Linked DNA regions of Homo sapiens: regions 2 and 3 are each linked to region 1. The links are contacts of gene promoters, found by promoter capture Hi-C in blood cells and fetal thymus (Javierre and others, 2016). All regions are on one chromosome and are shown on one strand. The core of a region is centred on a gene start or on the middle of the fragment in contact, and the rest is flanking DNA. Distances in the headings are between cores, read along the strand shown.

Evidence for each region. Contacts are between HindIII fragments. The CHiCAGO score rates a contact against its expected background, and 5 or more counts as called.
Region 2: a contact is called between a fragment that was not itself captured here and the fragment with the promoter of LTV1 in region 1, in 1 of 17 cell types (erythroblasts). The highest score is 5.1, in erythroblasts.
Region 3: a contact is called between a fragment that was not itself captured here and the fragment with the promoter of LTV1 in region 1, in 7 of 17 cell types (erythroblasts, M1 macrophages, M2 macrophages and 4 more). The highest score is 11.3, in erythroblasts.

What each region holds. Positions count from the first base shown.
Region 1 is chr6:143,841,759-143,844,871 of GRCh38, reverse strand. LTV1 (LTV1 ribosome biogenesis factor) reads right to left here and starts at 1,534. Exons shown (of 11, transcript NM_032860.5): 1 at 1,392-1,534; 2 at 255-386. The coding sequence starts at 1,394. RefSeq lists enhancers at 1,031-1,100, 1,291-1,500, 1,681-1,730. The HindIII fragment of the contact is 13,446 bases long and covers 1-3,113 here.
Region 2 is chr6:143,442,868-143,445,980 of GRCh38, reverse strand. All of the region lies in intron 1 of ADAT2 (adenosine deaminase tRNA specific 2), which reads left to right. Among named protein-coding and RNA genes, the nearest start is that of ADAT2, 6.3 kb to the left of the region's middle. The HindIII fragment of the contact is 2,708 bases long and covers 238-2,945 here.
Region 3 is chr6:143,564,348-143,567,460 of GRCh38, reverse strand. All of the region lies in intron 1 of PHACTR2-AS1 (PHACTR2 antisense RNA 1), which reads left to right. It also overlaps a transcript of PHACTR2 not described here. Among named protein-coding and RNA genes, the nearest start is that of PHACTR2-AS1, 3.4 kb to the left of the region's middle. The HindIII fragment of the contact is 5,792 bases long and covers 1-3,113 here.

The DNA.
Region 1 (3,113 bases), core at 285-2,784:
TATTTCCCAGAATATCAGTTATCTGAGAATAACAGCTGGCTAACAATTTATTAAAAACTATTAACATAGCAAGGCGTGGTGGCTCATGCCTGTAATCCCAGCACTTTTGGAGGCCAAGCTGGGAGGACTGCTTAAGTCCAGGAGTTCGAGACCAGCCTGGGCAACGTGCTAAGACTCTATTTATTTAAAAAAAAAAAAAGAAAAAAAAAACTATTGTCTACCTACAAACTGACTGGCTAAAGAACAGGACCTACTTTTTGTGTGGGCAATAGAACCCTCTGGGGTGCACTCTCATCTGCTGCTAAAGGATCTCGTTGGCTCCGGTGGACCAAGTGAAAAGACACAGCTTTCTTCTTCTCTATAAAGGGCTTTTTCTTCCTGTGAGGCTTCAAAGGAACAAAATCACAACAATTAATTAAAACAGAACAAAAAGACGGAGAATAATTCCATAGTCCACACATGCATCTTTAGTAGTCATGTTAAAGATACTTTTTAAAAATCTACACTTCTAGGGCAGGCAACATCAGCTGTGTTCTGCAGAATCCATACTTAACCTTCCTTCAACAAACATTCCTTGAGCACCTACTTTGTGCCAGACCTTGTTATGGGAACTGAGAATACAGAAGTGGGAAAGTCAGATAAAGTCCCTGTTCTTAGCAAGAAAATCAAGATAATTTCCGGTGAAGAAAATATAAGACAGTGACGTGAAAATGCCTTAAAAGCTACTTTACACTGGCTGCTCAGGGAAGGCCCCTGGCCGACTGAACTAGAATGACAAGAAGCCTGCCACAACATAATCTGGAGTAGACAGCTCCACACAGAGCATCTACCAACCAGTAAATAAAATCACGACACAAACAGCTAAAGTTTAATAAGATCCATCACCTCTTTCTACATTCTTACTTCGCTATTCAATTTTGATTCTCTAAACTGGGAAACCAATTAAGTGGCTTTACTTTGGGCCCAACCTTATGCTCTCCCACAAGTTCCCTTTCTCAGAGGAAACAGACAGGCAGACACCTGCCACTCCAACGCTGAGGGAGACCAGCAGCTCCCTCTGCTCGACCCCAAGAAGCACAGGGTTGCGCGTTTGTGTCGGCAGTCACCAGCTTTTAGTTAACCGAAATCACGCAGGGCTGCAGGCTCCCAGGGATAAAACAAAAAGGCCATTCTCCTCTCCGGGCCACATCCCAGGGAGGCTCGGCGGTGGGAGACTGTAACTTGCAAAGAATGCCCACGGTGGTGACGTTGGCCCATTTCGGGGTACCGTGCCGCAAGCAGCCTCTGGCATGACCCAGACCCGGGCCGCAGTAGCCAAGGTATTACCGGAAGCAGCCTGGCCTCTGCAAAACCACAGCGCTCGGCCGCCGAAACAAGCAAGGCTTGCTCACCATGCTGCAGCCGCGCGGCGCTCACCCCCAACAGGGGCGGCGATGACACCCTCGAAGTCCGGCGGGGAGACCAAGGTCCAGCTGAAGGCCGCTTCTGTAGGCCTCACCACACGTGCAGCCCCAGGACCCGGCGATAACGTCACCCAGCCGGCCGTGGAAACGGACCAATCGCCGAGGAGCTGATGGGTCGCGACCGGAAGTTACATAGGCTCGCTGCGTCTCCACGATCGCGAGAAGCCACCGGGAGGTGGGGCTAGCTCGGCTCCCACCCCTGGGCGGGCTGTACTTTTCCGGCCTTTAGTCTCCCGCCGGGCAAAGGGAATCGTGGGGGTCCTTAACGTTGAGGCGCCACAGAGGGGTTTCTGCTTGTGGACGAACCTTTTATAGCTCCCTCTACGGAGACCAGAGGGGACGAATCTAGCATCCCCCTTGACTTGTGTCCCTTACCTATTCCCAACCATAAAAAACAAAGCCGCGGACACGGAAGGGAGGCGACCACCCCGCTGGGGTGCTGGGGTCGCCAAGTTTCAGGTTCCCTCTCCGGGTGGGGGCGGAGTCGGTTGCCGTAGCAACGGAGGCTGGGGCCTTGCCTTTATAGACTGCATCAGACTTGATCAGGTTATATTTTCCACTGTTTCATGAACTGCTTTCATCTGCCCTGTTAACCAAACCCCCGAGACTCTGTTAACTGTAGAGGCATTTGAACTAATAAAATATATTCAGAATCTCTGGTGTTTGAATGTTAACTTTCTCCCCCTGTTTAAACAAATAGGCTATAAGCACGCATTCTTAGGAAGATTTCAGGCCGGCGTTGGCGTACTCACATAGCTTTTCTTGGACGAAAGTGTGTGGTAAATGCAGTCACTTTCATCAGCAGACCTTTTTTTCAAATTTGTTTCCCCAACTTCCCAGTTTCTGGTGACCTCTCAATGAATGGCTTACCCTGGATTGTGTCTTTATGCCGTAGGCATTATCACTGTAAGTATTTGTGGAGTATTATTCTTTTATTACAGTAAAAATTATAGAAATAGGCCAGGCGCGGTGGCTCATGTCTGTCATCCCAGCACTTTGGGAGGCCGAAGCGGGTGGATCACCTGAGGTCAGGAGTTCAAGACCAGACTAGCCAACGTGGTGAAACCCCGTCTCTACTAAAAATACAAAACTTAGCCAGGTGTGATGGCAGGTGCCTGTAATCCCAACTACTTGGGAGGTTGAGGCAGGAGAATAGCTTGAACCCGGGAGGCAGAGGTTGCAGTGAGCTGAGATCATGCCATTGCACTCCAGCCTGGGCGACAAGAGCGAAACTCTGTCTCAAAAATATATATATATAGAAATAATTTAGGTTAGGACCATAAAACTTGTCTTAGGATATTGCTTTGTAACAGAGATAATACATAGCACTCCTATGTGCCAGAGATTCGTTGTTATTATTCATTATATAGAATTAAAAGATCCAAGGGGGCAGTTTTCATTTCCTTTCAATCAGTTGTACTTACTGCTGTATCATCAGGGGCCTGATGCATGGGGCATATATGCTCAGTAAGTATTTATTTAAATGAATTAATGTTCTGGCACTTTATCTGAATCATCTCATTTCATCCTCACTGCAACACTATGAAAGAGACGCAATTATCTTCAGCATCTTACAAATCCTAAAAATGAGGCAAGAGAAATACAAACTAAGTACTAAGCCCCCCAGCTGACTGAACGGACTCCCTTTTG
Region 2 (3,113 bases), core at 342-2,841, 400 kb after region 1:
ATATGTGTATAGAAAAAATGTTGCAAGTTTTCTAGAAAAAAGTCAATTGTATTTTTTTATAGTGTGCATTTTTGGGGCAATTGATATTAATATAACATTATGCTAGGCTCTGAGGGAAATTCGAAAAGAAAGCAAACACCACAGACACCATTTCAACAAATGTGGTATGATTAAGTTTTTGCTATGTGTTAGACCTTGTGCTGGGTGCATAGGCTGCAGAGGTGAGCAAGAGAAGCTTCGTAGTGCCTGGATCTAGTGCTTGCCTTCCAGGAACATACTGTTTAATTGATGAAATTAAGTCAGGCACAGATGAAAAGGTTGGTAAGTAACATGTCCAAAGACCACAAGAGACAGATATAAAGTGCTGTCAGATAACAGCTGGCAAGGTCCTTCAACACGTCCGTTGAGATAAATGATAGAATTCCTTCTAAATTTTAAGGGACCAAAAGGATGTGGGCTGGTGGAAAGGAAAGGTTGATCCAAGCAAAGATACTGTCATGTCCAAAGAAATCAAGAACTTTGTTTTGGGTTAGAAGGAGATCTATCTATCTATCTAGAACAGGGCTCCCTGACCTCAGGCTCAGGTTTAGGGGGATCTATGAACGCTGAAACTATATATAAAATATTATGTGCGTGTGCCTTTTTCAAGTGAGACAGTCCATAACTTTCATCAGTGTCTAAAAGGGGATTTCTGCTCTGAAAAGGTTAATAACCTAAATGAATAATGAAAAGTTAGGTTGGTTCGGTTGGCCAATGGGAGGGTGGGTGATAGTTGGGAGACCTTCAGTGCCATATTGAAGAATTTAAAGTTGATGGAATAAAAACATTATCACTTTTTAAATCCCCAAAGTTAAACTATATAACTGTTTCTGCTAATTACTCAGAGAGTAATCACTCAGAAGAGAGTAATTAGCAGAAACAGTTATATAGTTTAGCCTTTTGGACAGGATGATGTTCTACCTGAGAGTTCTGGCTAACTTGTTTGTTCCCCCTAATTTTTTGTCTTTATAGGAAATATTTCTTTAAGGACTCATCAAACTGTGTGCAAACAAGGTCTGTTTCCATCTCTCCCCCTTTTATCATGACATCACTAGAAAGCAGTTTATAGTAGTAATGTCTTTGGAGAAAATAATAAACTACGAAGTCTCTTCCATCTAGGTGCTTTCATTATCTGTATCTGGGCAGGCCCTGACTAGAGAAAAAAAAGAAATTATATTCAAGGACAAAATAGAGACCAGTGTTTGGGCTGGGAAGAACAGAGATTTTATTCTTTAATTTTGAAGGTTGATCATTTGTTACTTTATGAAAAACCTTGTAGCCATTTTTAAATAGTATCTGATCTTGGTCTTTCCCCCTAAAAAAGGCAAGAAAGGTTAAATTCAAAGCTACCTGCACAAATTTCAGACCCATTTTGCCTGAGCTTTTTTGCATTTGTGAAGAAGTGATCAGACTTGACAGTAGAGTTGTTGGGAGAGTTTGAAAGTATGATATGGGTATGGGGTGAAATTGATTTCCAGCTTAATTAAATCTATTGTGAACTTGTTAGTGAAGCAAATCTACATGTTAATTGTTGTAAAGGAGTTCCCCTCAACTCACTTCCATGGGGCTTTGTGTTATTCTCACCGCCCCCTCCCCTGCCTACCATTCCAGTTGCTTACCCACTCATCCTCAGCATGGCAGGCTCGGCCATTCCTCAACAATGACGTTATTTGTCCTTTTAAAATATTCCGATCGCTCATATTTGCTCTCTGTTTCGGACAGCAGTGGAAGGCATTTCAGGAAAAAAAACTGTGTTACTCAAAATAAACATGAAGATAATATTGAGAGGAGTGAAATGAAATAAATTTGCTAGACGGAAAAAGAGAAAAATCCAAAGGAAGGAATGGAAGGCACAAACCCAGTAACATGGTGGCGTGGGTGCTATCTCCAGGTGAACAAGACAGAACTTGCAGGCAACATGGAATCTCATCTCCCATCCCACTCACGTCCTTTCCACTCGGCCCTGCATTCTCTTCTGCAGGTTTGAGATGGCCCACATAGCCAATGTAGAGCTCTTCAGGAGATATTTTTACAGAAAATCCTGATCACATGGCCTCCATTTGTTTATTCTCTTGCCGTTTTTGTTTTTTTTTTTAACTTTTTTTTTTTTTAAGACAGAGTTTCACTTTGTCGCCCAGGCTGGAATGCAATGGCACAATCTGGGCTCACTGCAACCTCCGCCTCCTGGGTTCAAGCGATTCTCATGCCTCAGCCTCCCAAGTAGCTAGGATTACAGGCACCCATCACCATGCCCAGCTAATTTTTGTATTTTTAGTAGAGATGGGGTTTCACAATATTGGCCAGGCTGGTCTCAAACTCCTGACCTAAGATGATCCACCTGCCTTGGCCTCCTAAAGTGCTGGGATTACAGGCATGGGCCACTGTGCTCAGCCTATTTTTTACTTTTTTTAGAGATGGGGTCTTGCTGTGTTACCCAGGCTGGAGTGTAGTGGCATGATCATAGCTCACTACAGCCTTGAACTCCTCTTGCCATTTTTTTTATCCTTAAAATTTCCATGTCTCACTCTCTTGCCAACTGTTCTCTCTCATTTGGTCCCTTGATTCACTCTAAACTCAAACCCTGATAAAGCAGCTGATCGGTGAAGTGTCTGTTGTTACTAAAGTAGAAGTTAGAGGCAGAACAGTGGCAGAGAGCCCTGGAATCTGGCCCTTGGTAGGTGCTCCACAAATGTTTGTTGAACAAATGAATAAGTGGAGCCAGGTTGTCTATGCCCTAGTCCCAGCTCTCTCACATGCGCTAGTGAGAGATATATACATGTATAAAAAAAAATCTCCCTGTGCCTCAGTTTCCTCATCTGTAAAATGGGGAAGATCATTATAGGCTTGTAAATGAAATGAATTAATACTTATAAAATGCTTAAATTAGTCCTGGATCAAAGTAAGCTTTCAATAAATTGTAAGCTCTTATGTTCAAGCTCTCAGAACCAGAATACTCGAGATGCAGACAAAACATTACCTCTCTTAAGAGGTTTGTTGGGGAAAGTATAGCTGGAGTTAAAAATTTAACCTCTTAGATAAGTCACTGTTCAAGCTACTGGTTTTCATCTCCACCA
Region 3 (3,113 bases), core at 358-2,857, 280 kb after region 1:
TGCCACTGCACTCCAGCCTGGATGACAGAGCAAGACTCTGTCTCAAAATAAGTAAATAAGTAAATAAATAAATAAATAAAAGTCAATAAATAATAAAAATCAAAGACCAAAGCCTGTATGGAGAAAACTATAGGAGAAAGTGTCTCTTCTCTCTAAATGAGAGAACGAGAGAGGGAGGGAACCATGAATTTTGCTGCGTATCTAAATTTTTGGGGGTTTTCAAAAGCCAAACACACTTAAACCACATCTGCAGCTTTCACAATGACTCCAGAATACTTGGGGCGCTAAAGTCACTTTGGTACTTCGAGGTAGTGAATTAAAGAAGTGAAAGTGTTACAGTGACAAGAGAGGCCACTGCTCTGGGAAAGACACAGAAAGGAGCGCGACGTGTAGATGATGAGGAACACGGAACTGAGTGTGTGGCTGCTAATGGCTTTAGATAAATCATCTACAGAGACGCTTCAAAAGGAAATTCTGAACCAAATGGAATGGGTCAAACTTAATCGGATCCTGATCCAAACATTCATTGATGAGACAATGGGGGAAATTTGAATGCTGACTGACTAGCTAATGTTATTAATGTTAAATTTTTTTTAGTATGATAATGGCATTGTGGGGTTTTTTTTTTTGAAAAGTCCTTATTCTTTAGTATTACATGCTGAAATATTTGTGGGAAAAATAATATGATGTCTGGAATTCATTTAAAAATATTCTGAGGTTAGGGAAGGCAAGCAGATAGGCATGAGGAAGAAACAATTTTGACTATGAGTTAGTAAGAGGGACAGGGACCATGTGCATGAGGGATCATTAGACTATTCTACCTACTTTTGGTTTATATTTAAGTTTTACTAAAAAATGGCTGGACACAGTGGCTCACATCTGTAATCCAAGCACTTTGGAAAGCCAAGGTAGGAGGATTGCTTGAGGCCAGGAGTTCAACATCAGCCTGGGCAACACAGTAAGACCCCTTTCTCTACAAAACAACAACAACAACAAAAGAATAGCTGGGCATGGTGGCATGTGCCTGTAGTCCCAGCTACTTGTGAGGCTGAGGTGGGAGGATGGCTTGAGCCCAGGAGTTGGAGGCTGCAGTGAGCTACGATTGTACCACTGAACTCCAGCCTGGCAACAGAGTGAGACCCTGTCTCTAAAAAAAAATACAAAATAAGTAAATAAATGATAATAATAAAATAAACTGGCAAGATGCAGTGGTTCATGCCTGTAATCCCAGCACTTTGGGAGGCTGAGGCAGGAGGATTGCTTGAGGCCTGGAGTTCAAGGCCAGCTTGGGCAACATAGCGAGATGCCATCTCTACAAAAAAATAGAAAAATTAGCAGGGCATGATGTGCACCAGAAGGCCTAGCTACTCAGAAAGCTAAGGCGGGAGGATTGCTTGAGCCCAGAAGTTGGAGGCTGGTGATCAGCCCTTCACTGTGTCTCATTGGGACCTAAGGATAACCCCCCACAAGCCTCCTGACTTCCACCCTGCCCATGCCCCTACCCTCTATTTCCAACACAGCAGCAAAGTGAATGCTTTTTAAAAATTATCTGTAGGTCAGTTCACTCCTCTGCTCAGGACCCTGCGCAGACTCCCCTTCCCGCCCAAAGTGAAAGCCCGCAAGACCCTGCCCTCACTCCACCCTGCAGCAACCATAGGCCCAGATCCAGCTTGGCAGGCTCCATTCTGGGGCCCTCCTACCTCCTTTACCCGGAATGCTCTTCCCCCATCATCCACTGGTTTTCTGCTCCAGGACTCTGTTCACTTATCACCATCTCAGCAGAGCTGCCTCTGCCCACCTAATGCCCCTGCTCCATGCCCACCATTTTTTGGCACTCTTTTTTTTTTTTTTTTTTTGAGACGGAGTCTCGCTCTGTCACCCAGGCTGGAGTGCAGTGGCGCGATCTTGGCTCACTGCAAGCTCCGCCTCCCGGGTTCACGCCATTCTCCTGCCTCAGCTTCCCGTGTAGCGCCCACCACCACGCCCGGCTAATTTTTTGTATTTTTAGTAGAGACGGGGTTTCACCGTGTTAGCCAGGATGGTCTCGATCTCCTGACCTCGTGATCCGCCCACCTTGGACTCCCAAAGTGCCGGGATTACAGGCGTGAGCCACCGCGCCCGGCCTGGCACTCTTGAATTTCCCTTGCTGCTGTACTTTTTCTTTTTTCTACTTACTTTTTCCACTTTCTAACATATTATGTATTTTTGTATGATGTGTATCCCTTATTTTCTGTATCTGAGCAGAGAGAATTTAATCTTGGCTAGGCTCGCTGATATCCTGCACATACCTAGAACAATGCCTAGCATGCAGTAGGTGCTCATTAAAATGAGAAGAATGAGAGAATGGATTCGTGAAAGCTGATTTTCATTCCATTCCAGCCACTTGCAACCACAAAATTCATGAAACATATCTATTGGCTTGAACTGCCATTCTTGCTAGAAGAATCTGCTGATGGTGATCAATGTTTTATACCACCATTTTATTGGTTTTCCTACATTGTAAAACCAATGTTTTACACCTTTTCCTTTGTAGAAAAGGGGAGCATCTCTACTTGTGATCACTATTCATGTATCTGGAGAAAAATACCAATCAATACATTTCCCATTATACCTCCCACATAGAAGGTTTTCATTTTGCTGAGGTTGCAGTTGTTATTTTAGGGACTGTTACTGTTTGTGACTTTGCCATTGAGATTCTGCCAAAGGCTCTGTTTCTGATCAGCAGGCCTTCCGAGAACTGCCGTCCGATCAGCCAGTGGCATTTACCAGGCACCTTCTCAGGGTGCTGAGCCCTTACATGATGCAAAGCACAGCCGAGGCCTCGTCAGCAGCTCAGCCATGACATGCTTCATATCCCACACGATTCACCTCTTGATCTTTAACTGTTTCATGGAGGGAAATTTTAAATCCAGGCTTCCCCCTCTAATGAATTCCCATAAATGTGCATGGGTGTTAAAAATACAAAATCCTAGCAAATGTTTTATATGATATAACAGCAGACTCCAATCCAGCAAAATAAAATAAATAAAATGACTAATCATGTTATAACTGTTTACTTAATTTTTACTCTTGGGCATTATTATGTGTCTCAGCCTTGCAAAGTGCTGTGATTA